Linked DNA regions of Homo sapiens: all the other regions are linked to region 1. Evidence: promoter capture Hi-C in human tissues and cell types (Jung and others, 2019). All regions are on one chromosome and are shown on one strand. The core of a region is centred on a gene start or on the middle of the fragment in contact, and the rest is flanking DNA. Distances in the headings are between cores, read along the strand shown.

Region 1 (4,579 bases), core at 222-2,721:
TCAAAGTTGGGTCGGAAGTTTTCAGTACTGATGCTGGCTTTGGCCAGCATCGCCTGGCCGATGTCAAACCCCACGTCCTCGGTGTAGTCAGGCCAAGTGCCGGAATATAAATTAAAAATTAAATGATTCCTACCATTGTTCCACAAGTGGAGACTCTGCACTTTGGATCTCAAATTGTGCACATACTGAGGTGACAACTGGTCTCTGTCTAAAGTATCCAGACTCAGGACAAAGAGGCACGCCTGGCTGGGGTCCGAGGTGTAGAACCTGGAGCCCTCGATGGCCGCTAGAATGTTTTGGTAACTTTCGGCGATTTTCTCCCCTTTTTGCTGTGGGTATACGTAGACTTTGAAGCCGTTTTTCTTGCAAAGGGTGAAATCGAAGCAGGACTCCATGCGGCACTTCTTGCCTTTGTAGATGCTGGAGTTGGCATCTCGCTTCTGCCGGGGGGAAATGTGCACGCTGGAATCCTCGTTTTCCAATTGATCCCAAGGAACGAAGGGGCGCAGAGCGTCCGGGAAGCGGGGCCAGAAATGATCCGGACTGGGGTGGTGCAAGCCATTCCTACCGCTGTGTTCTTCTCTCCGGCTGTGGCTCCTCGATGCCCTAAACTGCAAGCCTCCGAAATAAAACAAAAGGGCGAGACAAGAGCCAGCTGAGAGCAGGATGAAATAGCGTTTTTTGGCCTGCATGTGTCCTGCCTGGGTCAAGAGGATTGTAAATAAACACAAGAATCACCCAAGTTTCCCAATCAACACTTTCAGCTCCAGTCCGCCATCTTCCCGCCTGTAAAGACTTCAAACTCTCCGCTCCCACCTTCTCTGGATGCCTTTCCCCAAGCCGTGGACTGATCCAGCGCATGTGGGCGATTTCTTTAACTTTCTCCCCTTCGGTCTTTCATCTTTGGGTTGCACAATGCACGGGAGAGAGCGGGGCTGAATATCTCGCACCCAGGGCGGGCGAGCAGCGGACTGTAATTTTCTTGCATGCAACAAGACGGAGGAAAAGAAAGAGAGAGGGGAGAAAAAAAAAGCTCCCGATACCCAATCAATGGCAAGACGAAGTGATTGCCTTGCCTCTCGGATTCCTCTCGGCAGCGTGGAAAATGAGCCCCGGGAAGGCAACTTCAACTCATCCACCACTCTCCGTGCAGAGCACTCCGGTTCCAACAAGTCAGCCGATCCCGGGTTCAGCCGGCTAGTGCATCTTGCAGCTGGGGCGCCGTAACCTCACAAATCCCTGCATCTCTCTTTATTCCCTTCTGCAGCGGCTCCAAGACTCCGGCGGTGTTTACTCCTGCGCTCGCGGGGCCGGCCCCCGGGACGCGCGGCGGCCCGGCTGGAGGCGGCGGCGGCGGCGGCGCTGGGTGGCGGCGGCGGCGCGTCCTCCCCGCGGGCAGTGCCGGCCCCGAGCAGCGCTTCGCAGGCCCCCGCGCGAACGCTGCCGACCGCCGCGTTCGGTCGCCGAATGTTACCCGGTTCTGAATGTTACACTTACACATTCCATTCCCGACACGACAGCGCTGACCTCATCCATCCACGCAGCCCGCGCTGCCATTGGCCGAGCGTCACGTCCGGGGGGGGCGGTGCTTCCGCTGCGCCCATTCATAACCCCCGGCCGCGGGCCGAGGCGCCGGCGCGGCGTTGGGGGCGTAGGGGGCGCAGGGAGCCGGGGCTCCCGGGTTGCAAGCTGCCGGCGGGCTGCCGGGCAGGTGGAGCGCGGGACGGCCCGGTGCGAGCCCCGCGGCCCCTCGGCGCGCCCAGGCCCGGATCTCGGCCTGCGCCGTGCCGGGGACCAGAGGCGCCTGCGGAAACGCGGCGGCCGGGGAAGGAGGCACCGGCAGGGGCCCCGTGCCGCGCGGCCCCGGGCGCCCTGGAGAATCTGGCCTCCTGGGCTGCCTGCCGGAACGCCTAGAGAAAGATGCTTTGAAGGAGGGAAGCAGGGAGGAAAGGAAGACTTCATAGAAAGCGACCGCCGATCCGAAAGCTGCCTCTCCCAGCCCTCCTTCCACTCTCCGAGACCCAGTATTTCAATTTTCTGCTAAGCATTAAAACAATCTCCCCTTACTCCTCCTCTACATAGCACATTTTTTTAAACCAAAGAAACACCCCAATGCCCAACAATAAAGAGGAATTATTACAATCAAGAGGAATTGTTGCAATTCTTCATGCCTGCCTCTGTGCTAAGAGTGTAAGACGGCTATCCTAAATCCTCATTATCTACTTAGGCCGCCTTGCCTGAGCCCCCTCTGTCTATTATGAAGAAAGCTTCCAAGAGATCCAATCACAGAGAAAAAATAAATTTTCTAATGGCTGCAGGGAAACCAGTTAATTTAAGCTTGCCCCAGTCCTCAAAGTGATGTTATTCTCTTGGTGGTGGTGGTGGTGGTGGTGGTGTTAAAGATATCTCTTAAGGACATATGACTGGTAGAATTGCCAACTGTCCCAGCTATAGAAGGAACACTTGCATCAGGAAAACTACCTTATGTACAATTAGTGCCAAATAGTTGGTCCTTCCCTCACTGACCTCCCACTCCTTGGCCCAAGCTCCTGCCACTCCCAGTGGAAGAACTTCATTAGATAACTCAGGTAACCGAGGAGCAGTCCCGCTAAAGATCCTCCAGGTCCACAAAGATGTGCTAGGCTCCCAAACAGTATCTCTGGTCAAAGTCAAACTCCCTGGCCTCAGATCCTGAACACTGCTTTACAGAAAACACCTCCCACCCTCTGGCCTAGCTAAAGTCTCAGGGCTCGGGCAAGCTAGACAGTTGCCTAGGGCAGCCGGCTGTTTAGTGATTGTTTATTATGGGAGTGACTGAGAGCTAGGAGCAGACACTTCCCGGCTTCCCTCAGGCTGCAAAAACCCCAGCGGGGTGTGGATGAAGGGCAGGGTTATAACAAGGCAGTATGAAATGATAGAGTGGAAAGTTTCAGACCTCTGTTGTTTCAGATTTGTTTTAATAAAGCAGGGAAGGGGCATGGGTGGGACATTACTATACATTCGTGAAGCCTCTCCCTATTTCTGACCTGCCAAAGATGAGACAGCTTTTCCAGATTTGACTTGAACCCCCTGCACAATGTAGAGAGGCCTGGGACAGGAATAAGGATTCAGTCATCTTCCAAATACAGTGACAATGATGCAGATAAAGGCAGTGATTGAAACCACATGTGACCCAAAGCTCCCCCCAGCCCAAGTTGCTAAGAACAACAGTTCAAGGCAGGAGGCCTTCTCTTCTGATCAGGGTGCAGATTATCTCAGCCCTGTGAAGTGGGGCTGTGGGACTGGAGGTGCTCTCTCTCTCTCTCTCTCTCTCTCTCTCTCTCTCTCTCTCTCTCTCTCTCTATATATATATATATATATATATATATATATATGCTGGAGTGCAGTGGCAGGATCTCGGCTCACTAGAAACTCTGCCTCCCAGATTCAAGTGATTTGCCTCCCTCAGCCTCCGGAGTAGCTGGGATTACAGGTGTGCACCACCAGCCCTGGCTAATTTTTGTTTATTTTTGGTAGAGATGGGGTTTTGCTGTATTGGCAAGGCTGGTCTCGAACTCCTGACCTCAAGTGATCTGCCCACCTTGGCCTCCCAAAGTGCTGGGATTACAGCATGAGCCACCTCGCCTGGCCCCTCTATATCTTGCCAGTTGTTTTGCATGACCTTAGGGGGAGCTAGCTACCCTCCTTGCTCTTTTGTGTTCTGTTTATGTTTTGGCATGTGCTTCCTGCTTTTCTTGCCTAATTATGGCTAATTTCCTTATCCCAGACCCCAGTGTTACCCATCTCTACTTGTACATCCCAAAGTGTTGTGTACTGTCAGAAAAACTTTGGTGCTGACAATTAGAGAAAACTTGAATTCAGACCCCAGATCTGCCATTTACTAGTACCTTGGGCATGTGGCTTAATTTCAGTGGACCTCCAGTTTCTCGTTTGAAAAGTCAGGATAATAATATCTTTCTTGCCAGCAGTTTTTTTTTTCTTTCTTTTCTTTTTAACAGAGTCTTGCTCTATTACCCAGGCTGGAATGTGCAGCAGTGTGGTCTCAGCTTACTACAACCTCCACCTCCCGGGTTCAAGTGATTATCCTGCCTCAGTCTCCCGAATTGCTGGGATTACAGGCAACCGCCACCATACCCGGCTAATTTTTGTATTTTTAGTAGAGATGGGGTTTTGCCATGTTGGCCATGGCTGGTCTCGAACTCCTGACCTCATGTGATCCGTCTGCCTCAGCTTCCCAAAGTGCTAGGATTATAGGCGTGAGCCGCCGTGCCTGGCCTCAATTTGTAAACTGTAAATTGCTCTACATGTGTAACACCATTAGCCTAAGTTCCACTTTTCAAACTCCAACTGTAATCTTAAAAGTAGCCCCTACAATGGTATCATCATTTTGTCTCCTCTGTTTTATTTTTTCCTAACCCTTATTAGCTGAAATCTCCTCTGTTCGTTTGCTTGTTAACTTTTCACAGTAAGGAAGCCCCTGAGAGGAGGAGCACTGTTTGTCCTACTCACTCCTTTATCCCAAATGCCAAGGGCAGTACCTGGCACTTAAGTGAAGCTCAATCACTGATTCAAATGAATG
Region 2 (4,579 bases), core at 1,506-4,005, 940 kb after region 1:
ACCAAGTCTTTGCATATACTGACCTCTCACAAAGATCACGTTAATGCCACCAAGACAGTGTTGCTGGGGAAGAGTTATTACAGGTCCTTTCAGCCAGTTAAGTATTTTAGGACTTAAAATGACAACTCCTGCCATTACCCAAGGCATTATCTCATTGAATTTTTAAAGCTACCATAGCTATCATTACTGGCCTTAATTTCTAAGATCTGAATTCAATTTCCAGTTGTGGCATTTGTTAGTTATACAAATTCATTATGTCCTCTTAAAGTTCCCCATGTCTCCATTGACTCACAGAAGAATGAGATCCTCAGATAAAAATAATATCTGTGGAATAAATTATTAACAGTCAAGCAAGCCCGCCCTCTCCCAAGGCTAGTTGGTGATGTTGTTTCTGTGCCATTCTATCTTCAGGGAAGAGAAAAATAAGAATTATTACATTCTAACTGAAAGACTTGTTGCTGGTGGCAATATTTGTCTTAAGGAAAAAGTATTTTATTTTAGAACTTATTAACAAATTTAGTTGAAGGCAAACAAGCAAGAGAGCTAAAATCTCTGCAAAGTGAAAATAAAACAACAAAAAGATTTTAGAGTTTCTTTGGCAGCCAAAGAGAGCCGGAGAGGAAGGGAATCTGGGAACCAAGAAGAGAGGGGAAGGCATAAAATTCCAGAGAAAAACGTGGAGGAGGAAAGTCCTGAGCGAAGACGGCAAAGAGGAAATTCCTAGTGTGATACTGGCTAGAGAATTCTGATGAGCAGGAATGCCTCCTACTCAATTTTAAGTGGTTTGATTTGATGTGCTCTACAATAATAACTCTGTTATCCTCAACACTTCAGTGGAAAAATGCTGCATAAAACTGCTTTATATTGGGATGCTTCAGGGAAACCGTAAAAGGGGGGACTATGTTCTATCTGTGGGTGAGAGCAGGTTGGAGAGGTGAAATGAGCTGCAGGAAGAGAGGGTCAAGATGCTAAAAAGAGATGAGCAGCAGTGAATAGGAAATAAGTCTTCAGGAATTCTCAGCAATCTTAGTAAGGGCAATACGCTAGCAAAGTTTGCAAGGCAGAAGCTCAAGGCTGTTTCATTTAAGGATGAAAGAGCATTATTACTCCTCAAAGCAGGAACACTTGAGTACCCGAAGGTGTCTGGCACCTGGCTTCCACATTTCCTAACATACACAGTGTGAAGGATTGCATTTGAGTTAGTGAGCAATAGTTCTTAGCAGGTGCTGTGCAGTGAACAATCAGGGTTTAAATCCTCACTTCACTACTTTCCTCTGAAACATGAAGTCAGTTACTAAACTCTTCTAAAGTCCATTCTCCATTTGTGTCTCCAGATGGTAACAGTGCCTCTCAGGATTGTAGGCAATTAAAAAAAAAGGTGGGGGGGGCTTATTTCTAAAGATCTCTAATATGATAGCTTGCACACAGTTAAACTTACAAAATAATCTTCATTCTTTCCTTCAGTTCTTGATTTAGTCTGTTGACTTCAAATAATTTACAGTATTCCCTTCTTTATCCACGGGGGATACATTCCAATTGGATACTTGAAACCGTGGATAGTATTGAACCCTATATATACTATGTTTTTTTCTATACATACATAGCTATGATAAAATTTAATTTATAAATTAGGCACAGTAAGAGCTTAACAGCAACTAATAATAAAATGGAACAATTAAAACAACATGTCAGCATCACTATTCTTGTACTTTGGAGCCATGATTTAGTACAATAAGCGTTACTTGGACACAAGCTCTGCAATATTACAACAGTATCTCTCATCTCCAAGATGACTACTAAGTGACTAACGACCAGGTAGCTAGTCAGAATGGATAGGCTGGACAAAGGAGGGATTCATGTCCCAGGCAGAATAGAGTAGGATGATATGAGATTTCATCATGCTACTCAGATGGCACCCAATTTAAAAACCTATGAATTGCTTATTTCTGGAATTTTCCATTTAATATTTTCAGACTACTGTTGAACTGAAACCATTGAAAGTGAAACTGCAGATAAGAGGAGACTACTGTATTTTAGGAATGCAACTTGTAAATGTCATTATTTGCCAGGGGAATTCTTCAGATTGCAATAATCAGATTGCAAACAGGTCATATAAAGACGTTTGTATTTTAAAAGATAAGTGATGATGATATTCATTTAGGAAGCATGTAAGAGATAAAGAGTCACTTAGCAGAGATGCCGTGGGGCTGGGATTGGTTAGAAGAACGGAACACAAAACCAATTTTGAGTTGAGCTCGGCGGTACAATACTAAAACATAAACCTAGTTATATATCCTTATGGCATCTGAAATCACTCACATCATTCTTACTGGGTCCTGTCCCTAGATTCTTGCTTCCATTTTCTGTGATGTATTCTGGAATGATGCCTCTGGAATTAACATGTTTTTAAAAATGTTTGCAACAAAATTATTGTTTTTAAACAAAAGTGTTCCTCAATGTTGTATAAATTGTGACATGCCCTTCCTTATAAGCTTTTGAATCCTTTCACATAAAAAGTAATTATGTGTATAAAAGACTGCAATATCTATGAATGTTATGAAGTAGAAATTTTAGTCATTTATAGGAACATAGAAAATGAAGGCTATTTTCTTGATGATTAAGTTTAGATCTTCTCGAAAGTAATTTATGAAAATACATTTTGAGAATTTTATATGATGTAAGCGACCCAAATCTGTGATGTGAATTATCTAAAACATAAACAAACCATTAAAAAAGAAACAGATTATTTATTAGGCACATGCTTTTCAGTAGAGTTGAAATAAATATTTATCTCCATAAAAGCAGAAAACATTTTCCCAGGAATGGATTGTATTCTGTTTTATCAGTTCAGCAAATGCCTGATAGCCTTTCTTAACTTCTCTGTGTTGAGTATCAAACAAATACAATAGGTCAACCACTCACTGTTCAGTGTGTGGAAACCCTACTGATTGAGGCTTCTCAGAAGCAAGGGGTAAAGGAAGAACAGGAAGTGGCAATGACCCTGAAGAACACTCATCTCTGACCTCTGTGTATAGCAATGAGAGAGAAAAGCGTGCTCTTTAGTAACTCAATCTTTATTTTCCTATTTCTCAGGAGCCCATGTACTGTAAACCTTTATTTGACCTGTCCCCACAAGGTTAGCATGGGTCACAGTCTCCACATTTGCAAAATGGTGAGCTTAGATACAGAATAAGTAAATACTCATCCCAGGAGCAAAATTTGTGATGGCATTGAAAGCTGGCTCCATGCCTCAAAAATGTCAAGTCACAACTCAGGTTTAACAGTTTCTATTACACATATTCAATTTAATCAGCTATTTGTCTTAGAGAGCATAAAGCAATTTAAAATTGATCATGTGTTAGAGCTGACTACAAAGAATAAAAATGCCTTGTCAAAAAGAGAAAAAAGTGCTATTAAGTATCAATTTCCTTTTTGCACTGCCAAAACATCGAAGAATCTTCCAGTTATAAAATCTGAACATGCTTCCTCTTCAGAGTTGACACTTTACCAAATCCTATTCATTCTGTCTTTAAAATACCTTGACTGTTTTTTTCTTCTCAGTTTCTATTTTTTGAGCTCTCATTCACTCCAATGACTTTAATTACGACTGATATGTAGATGACTTTCTAATCTGTACCTCTGGCTGGAATTTTTTTGAGCCAACAGACACCAACTCCACGTATCCAAGATTCAATTCATCTACTTCTCCTCACAATTTGCATTCTTTGTTTCAGTAAATGACACCGCATCCAATTGTTTAAGGCAGGAACCTGGGAATCATCCTGATTTCTTCCTCTTCTTTACCCTCAATTTCCAAAGAATCAATAGATCTTGTCACTTCCACTTGTGTTAATACCTCGAATTGATTTGCTTCTCTGTAACCCCATTGTTGCTGATAATGTCCAGGGTACCCTTAAAAAGTCAAGCACTACAGGTTGCCTACTCAATATCTATTCTTGCTTCCATAGCCTTGATTTACCTAATTAAAAATGTTTAATCTCTTAGTTTCCCTTGCTGCTAGCATAGGACATAGTTCTGGACAACGAGATGAAAGTGGATTTTACCCCAAAAGTTTTCTGGGAAAAACTCCTTAAAAATTGATTAACTTAACTGTCTTGTTTCATCAGCTCTTGATCCACAACCTTTCCCTTCATGCCTAGAATGTAGATGCAATGTCTGAATTGTAGCAGCCCTTTTGTGAGTACAAGGAGAAAAGCTCCATGCAAAAAATAGTAAAGCCAGAAGGGAGAAGTCATGGTTGCTGGCAGTAACACGGTGCTACTATGTCATGATTATCTGTGTCCATATTCCTTATTATCTGAACAAACAAACAAAACAAAACACCTCATTTCATAAAGTCAGTAAGCCACTGTTACTGGGTTTCTATTACATGAAGCCAATGAAGTTGTACCTCTGTCACATTTCTCATATCCTCCATTTTATTTCTAATATTGGCATTCTTTTTAAAAAAAAATCTTCACGGGCCACGATTGCCCTTATGATAGTTCCAAACTCCTCAGCAGCATGTATAATGCCCTTCAGGATCTAGTCCTTAACTCTAGGTTAAGCCTTATTTATC
Region 3 (4,579 bases), core at 1,000-3,499, 630 kb after region 1:
TAAAAACCAGATCATAAATAATAGCTATTTTCAAAGTTCTCTTATATGCATTATCTCATTTAATGCACAAAATTTTCCAAGAGAAAATTACTCATAAATTCATTCTTAGAAACGTTATTCCACATACCCCAAGTCAGAGTGCCGAAGAGTGGTGGGGCTGGGTATAATAGAGTTGCATTGCCCACAAGCAGGGCCTGGGAGCATGTACCCACCCTGATGGCTCTTAGCCAATGCCTGCCTGGGCTGGATTATGAAACTCCAGCATGCTTGATTCAGATTGAGATGATTTTGAGGGGTAACTTCCACTCCAGCATGCCCCACTGGGATTGGACTGTATTTTTCCTCATCAAACCTTTTGCTTGAGGTCATGCCCATCCTTGGCTTCTTCCCTACTTTATTTTCCTTCTTTTTGTCCCTTATAAGTTTCCTGGAGATCCCATTCTTAATGAACAATTTGCACACAAATTCTTTCTCAGTATCTGATACTGGTTATCCTCACCTAAGACACCAACCAATAGTGCTTGATATCAGAGCTCAAGCTCTTACACATGATCCAATTTGAGATTCTTCCTAAAAAGGTGCCAATTATTCTTCCTTATAAGAGAAAACCTTAATTATAGGCAAATGTAATTAGATGGATAATGTGCACACACATTCCTTCCTTTACGTGTATTTATTAAGTATTTAATATGAGCCAGATTTAATCTAAGTACTGGTGATACAATGTTAAATGAGATAGCAAAGTCTCTGTTTTCATGGCTTTACATTCCAATACTAGAATATAAGTAAAAAAGTGAAAAAAAAGGAACAAGATAATTGCTGATAGGATCAATGGTATGAAGCAAGTAAAATGGAGTTATGAAATCCAGAAGGGAAAGGACTGATTTTCACAGGGTGCTCAGGAAGGTGTACTGGCCTGAGGCAGTGATATTCTCTGTGACACTGAAATGAAAAGAAGGAGCTGGACGTGCAAGAATATGGTGCCATACAGAGAAATAAGCAAATCTGAACTCCTAAGTGGGAGCAGCCTGGGAGAGTTGGAAGAACAGAGAGAAGGCCAGAGTGCCTGCAGTATATTGAGTTGTGGGAAGGGAGGAAGCTGAGAGAGTGAAGAATAAGTAGAGGCAAGATTATGGAAGGGCTTTGTAAACCATGCTATGGGGTTCAGGTTTTATTCTCTGGGTCATCCCTGGAGGTTTATAGTTTAGAAAGATCATTCCAACTGTGCTGCTGAGAATTGAAGATGAAGAGGCAAAAGTGGATGCTGGGACCATTAAATAGGCTATGGTTGTAGATGATAAAGAAAAATGAAAGTGGGCTGGACTCTTGGACTCCTCTGGCCCCTGTAGATAAAGAGAGGTGGAGATAGTTTTGGATTTTGAGGTAGGGCTGCCAAGACATGGAGACGGATTGGGTTTGGTGAGTGAGAGCGTAGAGCTTGCGAGGATGATTTTGTACAATTGGGGTTCAAGCAACTGAGCAGATGTGTGGCCATTTATAAGATGGGGAAGCTTGGGGGAGAAACAGGATTTGGGGATAAGAAAAATTACATTTGTATAAGTGCAGAAATATAATAGTTATTATATACCCTTGGTTTTATAAAATTTGAAATTTGATTCAGTTCCCATAGGCTTTAATGAAGAAATTTGTGTTGATTAACAGCAGACAGTGCCTTCAGTGTTGACTTTATTGCTTCTACAATGAATAAAGCCCTTTCAAGAAGTTTAGTTTTATTCCGCTATCAGGGTGTTCTCTATGGGAAATTCTTCCTTGTTGTCTATTCACAATTATACAAGGTCCCATTCTTTGACATGGAAATAAGCAGCAACGCCCACTGAAGTCAGCAATAGAAACTTGGCTTCCATTGCCACAAATTGTGCAGGTCCACACATCCTGAAGATAAGACTTGGAAAGAAAGTCAGGACTGAGCAAAAGTGCCTGGCTCTGATTTTAAAGGCGAGCTCATATAAACATCTCTTACGCATGATTCTGATCCTTAAACATTGAGGCATGGCTTTTATAATGAGAAAAAAAGTCTCTCATCCCCTAAATGTCAGTGCTTATGTTTTGGTCACTTGGGTTCCAAAAAAACACAATCTTTTAAAGAGAAAAATGTTACAGACATTGTCAGTATCTTAAGGAAGATCCCTCAACCTGTCATTGGTGTTAGTGTCCACACACAAGTGGCTTCACAAGGTAGGAACTTGTTGCTGGAGTCAGTGAGGTTTGGTTTCTCATTTTATGCTACTGGGTTCTGCTGTGGTCATAAGGGTAGTAGCTGATAATCCCATTTCCTCACTGTGTTGAACACTTGGAAGTCTGCCATAAACCAATTTTCTGTTTTTCTTTAGCTTTTCCAGAGTAAAAGAATTTTTTTTTTTTGGTGTTGAAGATGGACAAGGTTTATAACAAAACTTGTTCTTCATTTCTCCAGAGAAAGCTTTTGTTTTCCAAACAAGTACTTCTTGATTATTTTACCAGGGAGTGCATGGTTACCATCCTGTAATGTCAGCCCCATGCCAGCAGATGGCAGTCACACCACACCACGCTGTGGCAATCAGCTAAGCTTGAGAACACCAGGAATCTGTCCTTTTCACAGAGGAAGGGTCTGATGTGCTCTGTGCCATGGCAGGAGGGGTAACTAGCACGGAGATGAATTCCAGAGAACTCACTACATAAGTCTATAAATTTGTCCCTAAACTTGAAGATATTCTTAGTTGAAAAAGGAAACAAAACAGAGGGAAAAACAAACAAACAAACAAACAAAAACCCAAACCTCTAGCTAAGTCTGTCAAAATGAGCTATGAGGTGGACAACCCAAGGTCTTGAGCTTATGCTGGGCTTTGTTTCACTGATACATGGATCAATATAATCATAGTCAGGGAGCTGGCATGAAAGCAGAATGGCTGAGAAAATAAGACTGGAAACGACTAACTGCAAAAGTATTTTATTTTCAGGAGGATTAACTGCTTCTGGGGTGGCTGAGTGTGGTAGAGGAAAAACAGAAGAAACTCCAAGGTGAAATTAGAAATCTTAGAAGAGCTCTTCTTTCTCCCATAGAGGTAACACAGTATTTCCAAGAAATTATTGATAGTAGGAATAAGGATTTCCCCCAGACGGAAAGGAGACATTGATGTACTGCGGGCATCCCAACTTCTACCTCATCATGCGTTTCTGAGTTTCTTCCACCATGACCCTGATGGTTTTGGTTACTCTCTCCTTCCCACTAGTTACGTGGTTGCTCTGCTTTTAGTTGAAGTTGTGCTGACTTTGGGATAGGTGTAGGGTTAAATGGTATCAAGAGGACATTCCTATTTATTGACCTACAATGTGGTTTCTGTACCTGAGCAAAAGACATATTTTTTCTCTATATTTGAGTTGGTCTTTTGAGACCGGCAAAGCTGTGGAAACAAAGCTTTGCTTAAGGAAAATGGCCACAATCTATTGTTAGAAAGAAGCCTCAAGTACCATGAAAATGGACCACACAGGTCAGGGATTTCTCAAAATGTTTCTTTTCCCAGGAAAATATTGAAACTAGGACTATTGTGGAATTACACAGTTTATGATTGCCACTTATGAACTACACCGGAATCAGGCTTGAAGGGTTCTGAACCATAAGAAACTTCCTCTGGAAATGAATGTGGTAGCTGAGTCCACATGTGTGGGAGGCCAACTGCATAGCTGGGAGTTGTCACAATTAACTTCTGCAGATAATTCCATGTTTATTAAATAAGTGATTTAAGTGTGACACTATTGTATGTGCAATGTCTCTTTTCTATCTGGTGGAAATTCTTATTCTTACTATAAAGAATTCCTTTGGAAATACTGTGTCATTACACAGTTTATGATCAATGGGTTATCATAAACTGTATAACTATCTGCAGCTATTTACAGATAGTTGCTATCTGCAGAGCTATCTGCAAAACTGTGATGTAAAACCATAAAGGCATTCGCAGCTTATTGTTCCTATTGCCCTTTCTATGTTTGTTGAAGGTTGAGGGTTTGCTTATTTTCCATCCTAGTAATTGGATAGTTATATGATCATCCATCCATATTTGAGTAGAGGTCGGATACATATGTCCTCAGTGTTCCAGCCAAGGTCTGGACAGTGGAAACAGTCCATTTGGGGTGCAGACAATGAGGGGGTACATTACCCATACATAACTTAAATACGCAATAAAATTGACTAAAATTTAATCTGCTTTTAAATAGTCACCATGCTCAGAAATTCTTAAGTACCATTAATGAAAAGATCTTTTTCTGGTCTAATTTGCAAACATTTGCTGTGATTGCAGCTGTGTTTCAATAATATATATGCGTGCTTCAAATTAGCACATTTAAATCACTTATTTAATAAACATTGAATTCTCTGTGGAAGTTAATTGTGACAACTCCCAGCTATGCAATTGGCCTCCCACACATGTGGACTCAGCTACCACATTCATTTCCAGAGGAAGTTTCTTATGGTTCAGAATCCTTCAATCTTAATTCTGGTACAGTTCATATTTTCAACCCCCATGATACTGTATATTCCTGTATTTAGACAATGCATTGGAGATAAACAAAGATAGCTATAGTA
Region 4 (4,579 bases), core at 1,318-3,817, 540 kb after region 1:
CTAGCTGAGAAGGGTCCCAGGCTGATTGCTGGCAAGAAACTTCAGTAATACAAGTGCAAGGAAATGAGTTCTGCCAATAACCAATGTGCTTGAAAGAGAACATCAAACTCAGGTTAGAATTACAGCTCTGGCTAATATCTCAATTTCAGCCCAGTGAGATCCTGAGTGGAAGACCCAGATAACTTGTACCTGGACTCTGACCCACAGAAACTGTGAGATAATAAATTTGTGTGACCTTCAACTGCTGAGATTATGCTAATGTGTTACGCAGCAAGAACACAGCAATGAAGAATACACTGTATGGTTGTGTGACTTCAGGGAAGTTACCTACCTTCTTTGTACCTCATTTTTCTTGTCTATAAAACAAACATGATAATTATCACTGAAATATGTGATATGTGATAATATAAGCAGGCTACCTAGTCAACATGGTTTAAGTACTGCTTCTCATTCCCCAGCCCACCAGCACCATCTTAAGCAATGGCTCTTCTGAAACATTCTGCCCTGGTTGTTCCTTCAAGAGCTGGCACAGGGATAAAGGCTGCCCTAGGTGCCATTTGCCCAGCAGCCAGTCCTAGGGTCAGTGTTTTGATGAAAATTCCTATTGTAATGCATAACCATGAGGAGTCCAGAGCGAAATTGCTTTGGGAGCCTTTGTGTGATTAACATTTCAGCTGTTTATGGAGTCTTTGCCCTATTATTTCCTGTTTTAAAAATTAATGTGCTGGTTTCTTTATTATTAAAAACCAAGAAAGGGAAGTTCAGCTGGAGCACAGGAAATAGTTCTATGTGATCCAAATATAAGTTTCTGAGTAGGGAGGATATTTGGAGGACTCCTGTTTTACTTAGATGTTCTTTGAGTTCCCACAACTTTTTATTTTGAAGTCATTGCTCCCCAACTCTACCCCCAAGCTCTCTGCCCCTCTGTCCTTCCTATCCCTAGATCTGAATGGAGGAAAGACATTCGAATCAAAGGCATTATGACTTATAAACAATGCCAATGGCAGTTTACATGACAGAATCATAAAAACCCATTGACTTAGAGAGTTTTTCAGTCAGAAGAAATCTTGGAGGGCACGTAGTTTGATCCCCTCATTTTACAGATGAGAAAACTAAGGCTTGGAGGTTTTTTGTTTTTTTTTTTTGAGATGGAGTCTTGCTCTGTCGCCCAGGCTGGAGTGCAGTGGCGTGATCTTGGCTCACTGCAACCTCTGCCTCCCGGATTCAAACAATTCTCCTGTCTCAGCCTCCTGAGTAGCTGGGACTACAAGCATGTGCCACCATGGCCTGCTAATTTTTTTGTATTTGTTTTAGTAGAGATGAAGTTTCACTATGTTGGCCAGAATGGCTTGGAGGTTTAATTGCTCAAGGAGACACAGCTAATCAGTGCCTAACTTTTCTCTGAAAGAAACTGGATTTTGGCATACTTTCCTCAAGTATTCTGAATCTATTATGTTTATTTTCTATGTGTAGAAGTTTAAGAACTCTTGAAATGTAAGGATCAAATATTCTCTTCTTAGGGATACACCCCAGTATAGATGTCATCATAGATCCTGATGATGTGTAATGCTGTCACCAATTGAACTTCCACAGGGAATGCAAAGACCTAGTTCAATAAGAAGGAAAGATTTAGATTAGATTTAAGGGGCAGAAATATCTCAGTTGCAAGCACTAGCTGTCATGTGGGATTGGGAAATAACATTCTTTAAGGATCATTGAGGAAACTATAGATTTGTGCATCCGTCACATGGGTTTACTCATTATTTACTTGGTATCACTCATTCTCCTTTATCTACTATCCCAGTATATTTCTGATGACTTGCATTTCTATATTAGGACAGTCTGGATTCCCTTCTCCCAAGAGAAAAAAAGAAATTCTTTGTAATCAACTTGAGAGTATAGTGAAGCTTTTGGGTGGATGGAGCATTTACTGTGTGTGCAGAAAAGTTAACAAAGCAGGCCTGAGACTGCTATCCTTAGACTGGCCCTTGACTGGCATCTGGAAGCTTGGGTAAACAGTTTCCTGCACTGATATCAATGGCCCCTCACTGACAAAAATGGCTCGGTGTGCCTGAACTGTTTGTACAATTTCATTCATGTTGAACACCTGCTTTCCTTCTGGGATTCTGGATTGGGTACATGCTAGACAATGAATTCTTAAGGGACCCATCTCCCAATAAAAACCTTGGGCACTGAGTCTCTGGCGAGCTTCCCCAGTAGACAGTTCAGGCATGTTGTAACAATCGTTGCTGGAGGAATTAAGCACGTCCTGTGTGACTCCACCGGGATAGACACCTTCAAAGCTGGCATCTGGTTTCCTTCAGACTTTGTATGACAAACTTTTGCCTTTTGTTGATTTTGCTTTATATCCTTTCACTGTAACAGCTCTTAGCTGTAAGTACAACTGTATGCTGAGTCATGTAAATCCTTCTAGCAAATGATCAGACCTGAGGCTCGTCCTTCTGGGGAAAATATGCATTTTCTGAGAGGCTTCCCTAGTACCACACAAGCAGCAGGCCCTTGCTTTAGGGAAATCAAGTTCAACAGCCAATATGAAGAAAGACAATCCACTATAAAATACTCAAATAAAGTGTTATTTCTCTTTCAAACCCATTTCCCTCTGCTTTGCCTACCAACCCACTCCATATCCCTTATATGTTCTCTTTTAATTTTCTACTTTACTTCTTTTCTTCTTCTTCTCCATTGTCTTAGGATCTATCTGCCCTATCTTATATTTTGTACTGTGAATTATATGACAGAAGAGGCTATATAAATAGCAGAAAAAAAAGCAACAGATGTGTGTGGAGACTCCGTTTTGTGCTCAGGAATGTTGTCTTCTAATTAAACTAAAATCACTAATAATTTAATCCCTCAGTTTTCTAGTCTAATAAATAGGGCTACCAACACCGGCCCGTCTTGCATCTGTAACTCGAGGGGATCAAATGAAATAATTTTTATGCAAGAATTTTAAATACTTGAGTTACATTAAAAGCAGAGACTCATTAGTCTCTTGGAGTTCTACACAAGTGGGTTGCATGAGAAATCTTTGCTCATGACATTTGGGCATCCTTTCTGTTTATTCAGAAAATGACAGACAAGAGAAAAGATTCTCAATGAGGAAGGGCCACAGGAATAGTTATACATGAGAAAAAGAAGGTTTGAAGAAGGCTGTGATTGTCTTCAAATATAGGAAGGACAGATATGGAGCAGGAGCAACAGAATAATTCTATATGACTCCACAGGATTTAATCAGGACTAATGGGAAAAAGCAAGGAGGAAGAAGAGGAAAGACCCGGCTGAGGCACCAGGAGAAGGGACGCACAAGAACCTAGTCATTGGAGCTGTTCGAGGCCAGGTTGAACCACTGCCCACGGCCAGTCTCCCATGTTGCATGCAGATTTATGAATGAACTTCTTTTGTGAACCACCCCCACAATGTTTGCAGCAGTGCTCTCTGTACTATTATTTACTGGATCTTTTTCTTTAAATAATTCATTTATTTCTTATTAGGTACATTTATTTTGCATATTTAATGCTAATTTTTGTAATACACATTAAAATAAAAGCGTAACTATAAAAAACTTACATTTGTCGGTAAACCCCAAACTAGATGCCTTTGAAACCTAGCATTACATAGAAATTCTTAAGCCAAATGAAAGACAAAAACAAAAACAAAACTATGTATGTGGGATCCTGACCCCTAGTCCTGTGAACCCCTGGGTCACTTGACTTCGCATAGTCTTTCTTGAAGGAAAGGATATTGCCCCATTTGTGGAGTATCACCCTGTGTCTCCTCATAGGAGATCATAAGGCCTTCCTCTTCCATGGATGAATTTGCTCATCACCTCGCAGCAACCTACCGGGACAACCAGGTGTAAACCAAGACTAAAGCAAATGGGGATGTATGGTAGCGCTACCTTGTCCTCACCCTCACTGCCGTGGTTTTGTACTTCCGAAATAAAGCATCAGCTCTTAATTATTTCCTCTGGCTCAATTTTCTAGGGATCAAGCAAAGACATCCCTTTCTCTCATATATACACTTGGTCTGCGGAAGTTATGATTCTGCCCGTGGGATCACAGTTGATTAAAGGCATCTGAATCAAGATAGATCCGTTTCCTTCTTGTTGGAATATGGAATTTCAACCTAGAGAAAAATGTGTTAGTTTGATAGGACTGCCATAACAAAGTTCCACAAGCTGGATGGCTACTGGAGAGGAGCAGTGATTAGTTTCTTTCAGGGTCTGAGCAAAAAGCAGATTGCAACTATATACTCGATGAAAAATAAGCAGTGGCTAAATTAGAGGAAACCATAAAGCAAACATCTTAAGTAGAAGCAAATACCTGAAGCAACGGACCTTTATTAATCAAGGCTGTAGACAGATGTAGGAATTTTATAATACCTGTTGATACTGTAAGTGTACCTTGGTATGTTACTTAATGGAGAAATGAAAACCATGTTTAATAAAGCAATGTTGGAAAACAGCTTCATCAGTCAGATTTACCTCCTTAAACTCTGGGCCAATTTAAGATCTTTGCAAGCCTTAGGCTCTCATACTTCTGGAGGCCCACATCATATCAAA

Evidence for each region. Contacts are between HindIII fragments. The study calls those that stand out against the background at their distance.
Region 2: a contact is called between a fragment that was not itself captured here and the fragment with the promoter of EXT1 in region 1, in 1 of the 25 tissues and cell types used here (IMR-90 fibroblasts).
Region 3: a contact is called between a fragment that was not itself captured here and the fragment with the promoter of EXT1 in region 1, in 2 of the 25 tissues and cell types used here (aorta and hippocampus).
Region 4: a fragment that was not itself captured here is called in contact with the fragment with the promoter of EXT1 in region 1 in 2 of the 25 tissues and cell types used here (IMR-90 fibroblasts and hippocampus).

Annotation. Positions count from the first base shown.
Region 1 is chr8:118,110,355-118,114,933 of GRCh38, forward strand. It overlaps EXT1 (exostosin glycosyltransferase 1), which reads right to left and starts at 1,472. Exons shown (of 11, transcript NM_000127.3): 1 at 1-1,472. The coding sequence starts at 692. RefSeq lists silencers at 1,325-1,414, 1,515-1,894. The HindIII fragment of the contact is 7,998 bases long and covers 1-4,576 here.
Region 2 is chr8:119,052,307-119,056,885 of GRCh38, forward strand. It overlaps a transcript of COLEC10 not described here. Among named protein-coding and RNA genes, the nearest start is that of COLEC10, 13 kb to the right of the region's middle. The HindIII fragment of the contact is 6,140 bases long and covers 1-4,579 here.
Region 3 is chr8:118,741,270-118,745,848 of GRCh38, forward strand. No RefSeq gene overlaps it. Among named protein-coding and RNA genes, the nearest start is that of SAMD12, 120 kb to the left of the region's middle. The HindIII fragment of the contact is 3,609 bases long and covers 446-4,054 here.
Region 4 is chr8:118,649,335-118,653,913 of GRCh38, forward strand. The region is part of intron 2 of SAMD12-AS1 (SAMD12 antisense RNA 1); the gene reads left to right. Among named protein-coding and RNA genes, the nearest start is that of SAMD12, 30 kb to the left of the region's middle. The HindIII fragment of the contact is 3,936 bases long and covers 600-4,535 here.